2 separate regions of the Homo sapiens genome follow, and region 1 is linked to region 2. Evidence: promoter capture Hi-C in 16 types of primary human blood cells and fetal thymus (Javierre and others, 2016). All regions are on one chromosome and are shown on one strand. The core of a region is centred on a gene start or on the middle of the fragment in contact, and the rest is flanking DNA. Distances in the headings are between cores, read along the strand shown.

The links. The method cuts DNA at HindIII sites, captures the fragments that hold promoters and counts their contacts. A CHiCAGO score of 5 or more calls a contact.
Region 1: a contact is called between the fragment with the promoter of SRP9 here and the fragment with the promoter of LIN9 in region 2, in 2 of 17 cell types (monocytes and activated CD4 T cells). The highest score is 5.5, in monocytes.

The regions. Positions count from the first base shown.
Region 1 is chr1:225,775,103-225,780,028 of GRCh38, forward strand. SRP9 (signal recognition particle 9) reads left to right here and starts at 2,724. Exons shown (of 3, transcript NM_003133.6): 1 at 2,724-2,910. The coding sequence starts at 2,839. RefSeq lists enhancers at 1,717-2,477, 2,224-2,443, 2,694-3,063. The HindIII fragment of the contact is 1,703 bases long and covers 1,182-2,884 here.
Region 2 is chr1:226,305,836-226,311,004 of GRCh38, forward strand. It overlaps LIN9 (lin-9 DREAM MuvB core complex component), which reads right to left and starts at 3,329. Exons shown (of 15, transcript NM_001366245.2): 1 at 3,274-3,329. The coding sequence starts at 3,304. RefSeq lists an enhancer at 2,462-3,228 and silencers at 2,782-3,011, 3,432-3,681. The HindIII fragment of the contact is 5,962 bases long and covers 1-4,585 here.

The DNA of each region.
Region 1 (4,926 bases), core at 1,474-3,973, 530 kb before region 2:
TTAAACCTCTTTTCTTCATAAATTACCCAGTCTCAGGTAGTTCTTTATAACAGTATGAGAATGGACGAATACGGGTACACATCAACATAAAGATGGAAATAATGGACACTGGTGACTCCAAAAGGGGGAGGGTGGGAAGATGGAAAGGGTTAAAAAGGTACCAATTGGGTACAATGCTCACTATTTGGGTGATGGGTACACTAGAAACCTAATGCCCACCAGTATGCAATATACCCATGTAACAAACATGCACATGTACCCCCGAACCTAAAATTAAATTTTTAAAAAAAGAATGCATCCTAGTGTGACTGGGGACATTTGCATAATCAAGGGCAATTCCCATAACTTCTTCCTTATCTTGATTTCTCTGCCTCTGTAGGGGCTGAGGCTGGGCTAAGCTTGGAGATGCTGGAACTCACAGTGATGGGGACCCTCACAATGGAGATCTGTTCTTTACTGTCATTCTCTCCATAACTGTGAGCTCTATGAGGCAGGGACTGGGCCTGTCTTGTTCACTGCTGGGTCTCTAATGCCTAGCCCAGCTCCTGGTGTTTGTCCAGGGTGGACACTTGTTTTACTTTTTGCTGAATTGAATTGAAACTGATCTCTTATGTTCCTTGTGACAGAAGGCAAAGTTGGCATTGTCTTAACTTCCATTGTTTTCATCTTCAGGGAAAAACCCCTACACCTGGGGGTCATTCTGCCCAACTCTGCCCTCTCTGCCTCTGCTCATTGCTCTTTATAGCTTCCCTCAACACACACACACACACACACACACACACACACGTGTCTCATTAAATGAGGATTTGGGTCCCTGGCTCATAGCCTTCTCCTTCATCTTATTCCTTTTCTTACTCATAGAAGACTTTGACTTTGTGTGGACAACCCAACTATAAATCCAGCCTCACCAGGGACTATTGCTACTCTAAAATGTTAAACCCCAATATCCAATCTGACTAAAACTTATTTCCTGCTATATTGAATTCAGATTTCCTTTAATCCTGGTTCCTTAACTTCTCTCTTTTGACTCAATTAATTACCAGCTATCTAGCATGGATCCCATAATTTATCATTTCAATCATTCTCTTGCCAGTACCACCTACAACATTCTTGACCCTTTGTTCTTCTTCCTCATGTACCCTATAAATCCCTAATATCTGTCTTTTCCAGTCCAAAATCCAAGCTTCTGGGTGTTGCTGGAGACAGACCCTAATTGGGGCTATTCCCAGATATGATCTCCAGTTTCAGCTTTTTACTCTACTTGACATATTGCTTTTGAGTTTCTTTTTTTGTTGTTGTTGTTGTTGTTGTTTTAGAGACAGAGTCTTGCTCTGTTGCCCAGGCTGGAGTGCAGTGATATGCGATCTTGGCTCACTACATCCTCCATCTCCTGGGTTCAAGAGATTCTCCTACCTCAGCCTCCCGAGTAGAGTAGCTGGGATTACAGGCACCCACGACCAAGCCCAACTAATTTTTTTATTTTTAGTAGAGATGGGGTTTCACGATGTTGACCAGGGTGGTCTTGAACTCCTGACTTCAAGTGATCTGCCCACCTCAGCCTCCCAGAGTGCTGGGATTGCAGGTGTGCACCACCGCTTCCCACCTGTTTTTTTCTAATAGGCTTCCTTATTCATTTCTCACAATGGCTTTTCCAAACCTTCTCCTCAAGGATCCAAACCCATCCTTGCTTCCTCAAAGATCCAAAACCACCCTTCCTATTTACGAAGGTGGTCTCCTGTCTTAGGTGACAAGAAAATGTACCTTCTTGCCCTCGTATCTACATGCTCACCTATACCCTCACCCGACTTTTCCCTCCTCCTCACCCCATCAAAGGCAATAATGCACCTGTTTTTATTCATCTGGGCCTTTGGTCTTCCCCTTCATATTTCCCGAGACCTCGCTTTCTTCTTTCTCTTGTATTTTTTATTTTTCTATCTCTTATGTGTCCTTCTCTAAAAGTTATAAACATGCACAAAATCTTTCCATCTCAAAATATAATACCCTTTACCTGGTGTCCCCTGCAGGCCATCTTCTTTATTTATTTACTTTTGCGCCAGCGTCTTCCTCTGAAGCCCAGGCTGGGTGCGTAGCGCGATCATGGCTCACTGCAGCCTCGGACTCCCGGGCTCAAGCGATCCTCCTGCTTGGAGGATCAGATTTTTTATCCTTGCAGAAGTGATAATATGGCTTCTTCCTCATCTCCTAAACACCAGTCATCTGACATACACTGCAGATCTAAAATGGGCCTACGTGTTCTGCCCTTCCTTGCCTACCTGTTGAGCTTGCACCGCTTCTGTGAGTCTCCCCCCACCCACAAGAGATCCTTCTTCCTTCGCGCTCCACTAACCCGACATAAATGTTTATCATATAAAGTTTTCCGTTGCACTCTTGTGTTTATGTCTCCTGGCTTCTTCACCAAGCTGTGTGACAGCTGGGCCCTGTCGCCTCCTTCCTCGTATATGCAGCGACTATCGCAGAGCCGCTTAATCTTTGTTGAAGGCAGCTGCGGTTCAGCCCTGAGGGCCACGGGACGGACGCCACTCATTCAGCCCTACCGGGGGCGCTGTGGCAGCCGGCATTGGTTGCCGTGCCCTCCGCTTGTCTCGCTCAGCTCTCGAGCCACACGCCCTGGGCTCCGCCCACTCCCTGACAACATCCCTCCTGCCCATTGGGCGAGCATGGACGGGGCTGTCCAATGGAGCGAGGCGTTGGTGCGAGGAGGCGCCGCCATCTTGGGGCTGCTGGGACTCGCGTCGGTTGGCGACTCCCGGACGTAGGTAGTTTGTTGGGCCGGGTTCTGAGGCCTTGCTTCTCTTTACTTTTCCACTCTAGGCCACGATGCCGCAGTACCAGACCTGGGAGGAGTTCAGCCGCGCTGCCGAGAAGCTTTACCTCGCTGACCCTATGAAGGTAAATCGCTGGCGGGGCCGCTGCTTTGGGCCCCAGCCCAGGATGTCTTCCCGCCATCCACTCGGCCCCTGGAGCTTCCCCAGCGCTCCCAGGAGGTGCTGGGAATGAACACAAATGGACCCTGCCAAGTTAATGTTCTGCTCTCTCGTCCCCTTCTTCCCTGATCTAGCGGCCCAGTGAGGCCCTGAAGCTGGCAACAGCCAGGTTCATCTCAGCCCTAAACATTTCTGCAATCGATCTTCCCGCCCCAGTCCCTCAGCTTCCTTTATGGCTTCGGTTGTTTTACGAGTCCCTGAAGCCAGGGCTCCTCCCCCTGCAGCTTCCTGTCCTTTGTCTTGGTTCACTTTTCCTGTACCGCCTAGGCGGTAAGGGTACCTCATGTATATAAAACTGATGATGTTTTTTCTACTACCGCTCAGACATTCTTGAAAGATTCCAATTTGGAAGCATCTGTACCCCCCAGAATATTGGTTCTTAGTATTTTGGGAGTCACAGGCTTTGGGACCATAAGAATAATATTTGCACCTTTCCTCAGAAAAATGGTATAAGTAAATGTATAAGTAAATGTTTGCAAACAATTTTAAGGGATTCATGGACCTCTGAAATACATTCTTAGCCCCCACAAAAATTATAATGGAGGTGGATGTCAGAGGTTAGCTCATTATTAAAAAGCAAAGGAGTCCAAGTGATGGGAGTTTAGCATTCGGGTCTTACTTTTCGTCTCTTGAGGTTTTGGTTATTTTATTGTCATGTCTAAGAATTATTTGAAGCATCTTCGTGTTAATTAAAAGTTCTGCTTCTTTTTAGAACTCAGCATATTGAAGGGATTTTATACTGAAAACCTCAGACCTGGTTATGTATGATGCTTCTTTTGTTTTGTGTTTGTTGTAACTCAGTTATCTCTTTTATGCTGCATTCATTTCCCACTCTCGTGTTACTGACCCCAAGTTAAATTAGGTTCTGTGGGAGACACAAAGGTGAATGAGATTCCGTTCAACCCTTAAGGAGCTGGTATTATTGGAGGGTATTATAGATCCAGTGTATTGTGACTGTATCCCTCGGAGAAGAAAGAAAATTAAAAGCAGATAAAATCTCGGAAAACCGGGGCTCAGGATCTTTTTTTTTTTTTTTCAATAGTTTTATTTTTTTTGAGACGAAATCTCGCACTGTCGCCCGGACTGGAGTGCAATGGCTCAATCTCAGCTCGCTGCAACCTCCACTTCCTGGGTTCAAACGGTTCTCCTGCCTCAGCTTCCCGAGTAGCTAGGTTTACAGGCGCCTGCCACCACACCTGGCTAATTTTTTGTATTTTTAATAGAGGCGGGGTTTCACCATCTTGGCCAGGCTGGTCTGGAACTCCTGACCTCGTGATCCACCCGCGTTGGCCTCCCAAAGTGTTGGGATTACAGGTGTGAGCCACTGCGCCCAGCCCAGGGCTCAGGATTTACTGTGTGAAACTATTGATGATCATTAAGTAATATGAATTATGTTTTAAGTGTATGCAGTGAGCTGGTAACCTGTAACTCCAATGCCACATACAGTTTATAGTGCATATAAGTTTAAAGTGTGCAGCAAGAAATGTTGATAATTATGATTAAAAATAGTATTAGACCCACAGAAAGACCTAGCTAAGTAACAAGCTGTAAAACATACTTCTATTTTTTACAATAAAATGATACAATAATAAATGATGGAAATTGTATTTTTTAAATTGAGTAATTTGTTTATAACACTGGTGACTTCTGGTTGCTTCATTTGGTTAGCTTCCCTTGTTGGCAGGGTCATTTGTTTCTTCATTCAGACAATGCTACTCTGAGACCACACAGGACTTTTATCCAGAAGTACCCACAGTATAAACTAAAAATACTTGAGACAACAGTAAAGAATATATAAATTCACATCAAGAGTAACTGTACTGTAAGAATGTGATGGCAGTGGTAGGGAAAATGAAAATAATTAGAGCATCACTGTGAGCAAAGCATGTCTAGAATAGACAAGAAAGAGAATATTTCACCT
Region 2 (5,169 bases), core at 2,079-4,578:
TTCGTTTTGAAAGGATCCCTCTCGCTGTGTGTTTGTGGGAAGGGGGCTGAATTAATGAGAGGCTGAGGTAATTGGTAAAGAGAAGAAATGGTAACAGTTTGGGCTATGCTGATGGTAAGAAATGGGTAGAATTGATAGATATTTAGAAGGTAAAATTTACAGACTTAGTAAAGGCTTAAATATGGGAAGTGAAAGGGAGGAAAGTGGCTGGGGGCGCGGTGGCTCACCCCTGTAATCCCAGCACTTTGGGAGGTTGAGGCGGGTGCATCACCTGAGGTCAGGAGTTTGAGACCAGCCTAGCCAACATGGTGAAACCCCGCCTCTACTAAAAATACAAGAATTAGCCAGGTGTGGTGGCGGGCGCCTGTAAACCCAGCTACTCAGGAGGCCGAGGCAGGAGAATGGCTTGAACCCGGGAGGCGGAGGCTGCAGTGAGCTGAGATCGCACACTGCACTCCAGCCTAGGTGACACAGCAAGACTCTGTCTCAAAAAAAAAACAAAAGAAAAGAAAGAGAGGGAAGTGCCAAAGAAAATCTCTAGGTTTCTGCCCTGCCAGCTGAATGCACAGTGGAACCATTCGAATCACTAGAAGTATCTGTCCTGGGGTAGGACTGAGGTGGATTTTAAACCTGTGCAGTTTGAGGGGCCTTTGAAGCATCTAAGAAGAAATGTGAAACAGGCAAGAGATATCAAGAAAGGGAGCTCAGGAAAGATCTGGGCTGAAGATAGCCTTAATTTCCTTATATAAAATGTGAGCACTTACATCAACTGAAATGAAGATTAAATGAGCAAATACATGTAATATCCTTTGCATGGCATCTGGTTCATAGTAAATACTCAATAAATGGTAGCTTTCATTATTGATAATGTTATATCGACTCCTGAACAATATATTAGCTAGCCTCCTTGACTAAATGTGGCCAAAAAACATACTGCTATTTCCAGTATCAAATTGAAATCGCTTTTCCTTTTCAAGACCCTGCTCTAGTTTCAGTAATAATACCTGTTACTTTGCACTAATTCCATAAAAATTATTTATGTATACTTGATTTGTGGCACTGTATGACAAAGAAAGAAAGAAAATCCCTGGTTTCAACAAAGCTGAAGTCTACCTAAACAAGACATACGCTTCACAAATACACACCAATGCACCAGAGATGTCACAAAGTAATATAAATGATTAGGTTATATAATTTGAAAGTGGAGCTGGAATTTGAACCCTAATATAAATCCCAAGTCCCTACAAAGAACCACAGTAAATTCTCAATAAATGCTGGATGATATGAAGCAAATATTCCTAATGGCAGTTGTAAGAAAGCCACTTAAAATGCCTCTCATTACAACAGAATGACTACAGTAACCAAAACAGTAGCTCTAGTGATTGTGACATCCAAGAGGTGATAAGACATGTTTATGATAAAGATACCAAGGATGATGAAAAACATTTTCGGATGACAAGTACACTGTGCTTAGTAGGTCCACACTCATTTGGGAGCATTCTAAGTCACAATCAAGACCAGCTGCGGTGGCTCACGCCTGTAATCCCAGCACTTTGGGAGGCCGAGGCGGGTGGATCACCTGAGGTCGGGAGTTCGAGACCAGCCTGACCAACATGGAGAAACCCCCATCTCTACTAAAAATACAAAAAAATTAGGCAGGCGTGGTGGCACATGCCTGTAACCCCAGCTATTCGGGAGGCTGAGGTAGGAGAATCGCTTGAACCTGGGAGGCAGAGGTTGCAATGAGCCGAGATAGTACCATTGCACCCCAGCCTGGGCAATGAGTGAAACTCCATCTCAAAATAAATAAATAAATAAAATAAATCACAATCAATTGTATTCTACAAATAAACAGTACAGCTCATGACTGGTCAATAGCTGTGCCCTACCCAATACAGTGACTACTAGCTACATGTGACTATGCAAGTTAAAATTAAATAAAATTCAAAATTCAGTTCCTCCATCACTCTAGCCACATTTGAAATGTTCCATGGCTACATATGGCTAGTAGCTTGGCTGCCCTACTGGACATCACAAAAGAGAACAGTTCTATCATGGACAAAGTTCCTTGGGGACTTAGTGCTGCTCTCTATCAAATTTAAAACACAAACACTTTTAATACGACTTTTCACCAGCTTGGCAACTTGAATTTTTAACTTTATAACTTACTAAGAACACATGACCTCACAAAGAAAATGGAATCGGTAGTATGTTGAGTCCTCATTTTTAAGTCCATTTGCCTTGTGCATAGATAAGATTCAATAGTAATTGAGCCTTTCACAAATATGTATAAACTGAATAGTGAAAGTGGATTCAGGACTTTTTTTTGTAATTAAATAACATATTTGTCTTTTCATATAATTTATGCAATATTGTAAATTACAAAATTAAGTTCCATTGCCCTTAAACTATGGAATTGGTGCTTTTACTTACTCAACACAAGTGAGCATACATGTCTTAGATGTCAGGGTGAGTAAACATGGTTAGGGGAGGCAATGCCCTAGGGTGGGTGTCAGGCAGGGTACACGTACGCTGTGTTGGTCACATCCATGCATAAAGGTACCTTTATGGCTCTTAAGACACATATAGAATAAAGTCTGCGGGACGGGGTCTACCTGAACACTGAGTATCCGGGCTGGATGATCTCAGGAAAGGTCCACAGCCACCTGTGGTCCCAGGGGAAGGGGCCAACCCTCTGACACGGAAACACTTCCAGGGGTGGACACACCGGTGGGGGGGTGGGGAGGACAGTGAAGATCACAAGTGCCCGTAGAGGCAGGAGCTGTGACAGGACAAGATCAGAGGCTGGGGCAAGAAGAAGGGGCCGTGGACCACCCCGTGCCCAGCCCGAGCCCTCCCCCGGCCCCGGGACAGGCGAGTTACATAACCCCGGCGGGCGTCTCTCGGCGCCGGGCGAGTGGTGCAGGCGGCGAGGACAGCCCCCGCGCCCAGGGGCCGCTCTTCCCTCCACCTCGGCTGGGGGCCGGAGTGGCGCCAGGGGAGCAGCCACCGCCTCCGCCTGGCACAGGCTGGACTCCCGGGCTCTCGGTTTCCGGCCCTGGCGCTCACACAACCCCAGAAACCAACACACAGACACCATAACAAAGGCGGCGACGCGGCGGCAACACCGGAGTGGGAGGACTAGGGGACCACAGTGGGGCTGGCAGTCAGCCCACCTGCCCAGCGGAGGGCACGGCCGTCCGTCCCGGCCGGTGCAACCGCTGGGCAAGCAGCAGGCGGGAAAAGGGGGGGGTGCTTTGAGGTGCTACTCACTCTCGTCAGGCAACTGGTCGAGCTCCGCCATCTTGAACGAGCCGCGCCGCTTTTTCAAAGGCTGCCCGCCGCGGTGCATTGTGGGGCGGAGACTGTCTTTGCGAGGGAGGTTCGAATGCGGAGCTCGCTGCCCGCGGCGCCGCGCTGCGCTGCTCCCGCCGCGGCTGGCTGAGGCGGGCCCGGCTCCGCCCGCGCCTGCCCGGGGAGGAGGTGCCGCCGAAGGGGGGCCGCGCCTCGCCCCTCCGCCGCCGCCTCCGGCCGAGCCGGGCGGGAGGAAGGGAGGAAGGAGGCCGCACGGCGAGGCCCGGCGCCGGAGCGCGGGGGGAGCAGTACCAGCTCCGGAGTCCCGCCCGGGCCCCGCTCCCGGCGCATGTTCCGCGGCCCGCGCTGCAGCTGCGGGAACTGCAGGCTGTTTGTTCCGAGTGGAGAACGGGAGGGAGGCCCCGGCGGGGGGAAAGAAGCCCTCGGTTCTGGGTCGCATTGCCCGAGGGGGCTCTACGCAAAGTGAAATACTCACAGTTCCCGAAACCCACGTTGCTTGGGCGCCTCCGTCCCCTCACTTTTCCCGAGACCGCCGGCCGCAGCAGCCCCCTGCGCGTCGCGACGTCCGGGACTCGGTCCCAGCGGCCCCTCGCGATCCGGGCACGCCTTTCCCGAATGTTGGAAGCTGAGCTGCGTGCAGCCGGGGAGCGAGACCTTGAGAGGTCATGAAGTTGGTCATTTAGGCCGACAGCTAAAGAACTGTTCTGCTCAGCTGTTTCATCCATTCGACACTAGATCGTGCAGTGGGCTGGAAGAGAATTAGAAAACGAGTAACAGGAGGCTTCGAGAGGATACAGAAAGGAACAGTGACACTACAAGGTGATAAAGTACCTGATCCAAATGTTATGAGAATACTGGACGAGAATTGAACGAAATTGAAAGAAGCCCAAGGAAAAATTTCACAATATCTGTCTGTAACACTTTCCAGTAATAAAACACTGTTGCTTTTCAAAAATTCATTTAACGAATGTCATTGAGCTCCAATCCTTTTCTCCAGGAATTTATGGGGGTTGGAGGAATGAGACCGTTAAGCAGTCAAAAGACAACGTGGGTGAATTCCAGGAACTACAAAGTTAAAAGGCGGTAGACTAAGGTGACAGAGTGGTACACAGAGGCCCGCCCAGGCTAAGGAGTTGAACTTGCTTAGTCCACTGGAGCAGTGGAAAAGTCGGGTGTAAGAGGGGCACGTTTCTATTTGTGTTTTAGAACAAAAATATGGGAAATGGATTGGTGGGGGACAAGATGAGAGCCTAGAAACCAGTCAGGAAGAAGCTTATTTGGGGCATGCAAAGGACAGAAGAGAGATGCCTGCACTGGTAGCTAGAGAGGTGCAGCGGGTGGGCTCTGGAGCCCCAGGGCCTCGATGGGAAGAATCCAGATGGGCTGCTAGTTGTATAATCTCAGGCACGTTGGTTTCTTAACCGAATTCTCTGTGCCTCAGTTTCTTATCTGTAAAATGCAAATAACAGGGTTATTTTGAGGGCTAAACGATTTGATAGATGTAAGGACCTTATACTAGCTGCTAGCACCCATCAGCTAGCCACTATTACCACCATTACCACAGCATAGGCAGTATTAGAGAGAGGTGGCAGCATGCACTCCACCTTTCAAGACGTGGAAAATAAAGGATTGGGTGAGTCACTGGGTGTGAGGAGAAGGAAGTCTCATTGCTGATGCCAGCTCTGTGCCTTGGGTAACTGGGTGCTGCCATGCTAAGGTAGGAGGGAGAGCAGGGAGTGAGCAGGGAGGGTGAAAGTTCAATTTTACAAAGTAATCCTTCCTTCAGAGCTAGCTTAACCTCTCCTTTGCCTTCTAAACACACTCTGATCTGCTCCCTAAGAAGATTAAAACACT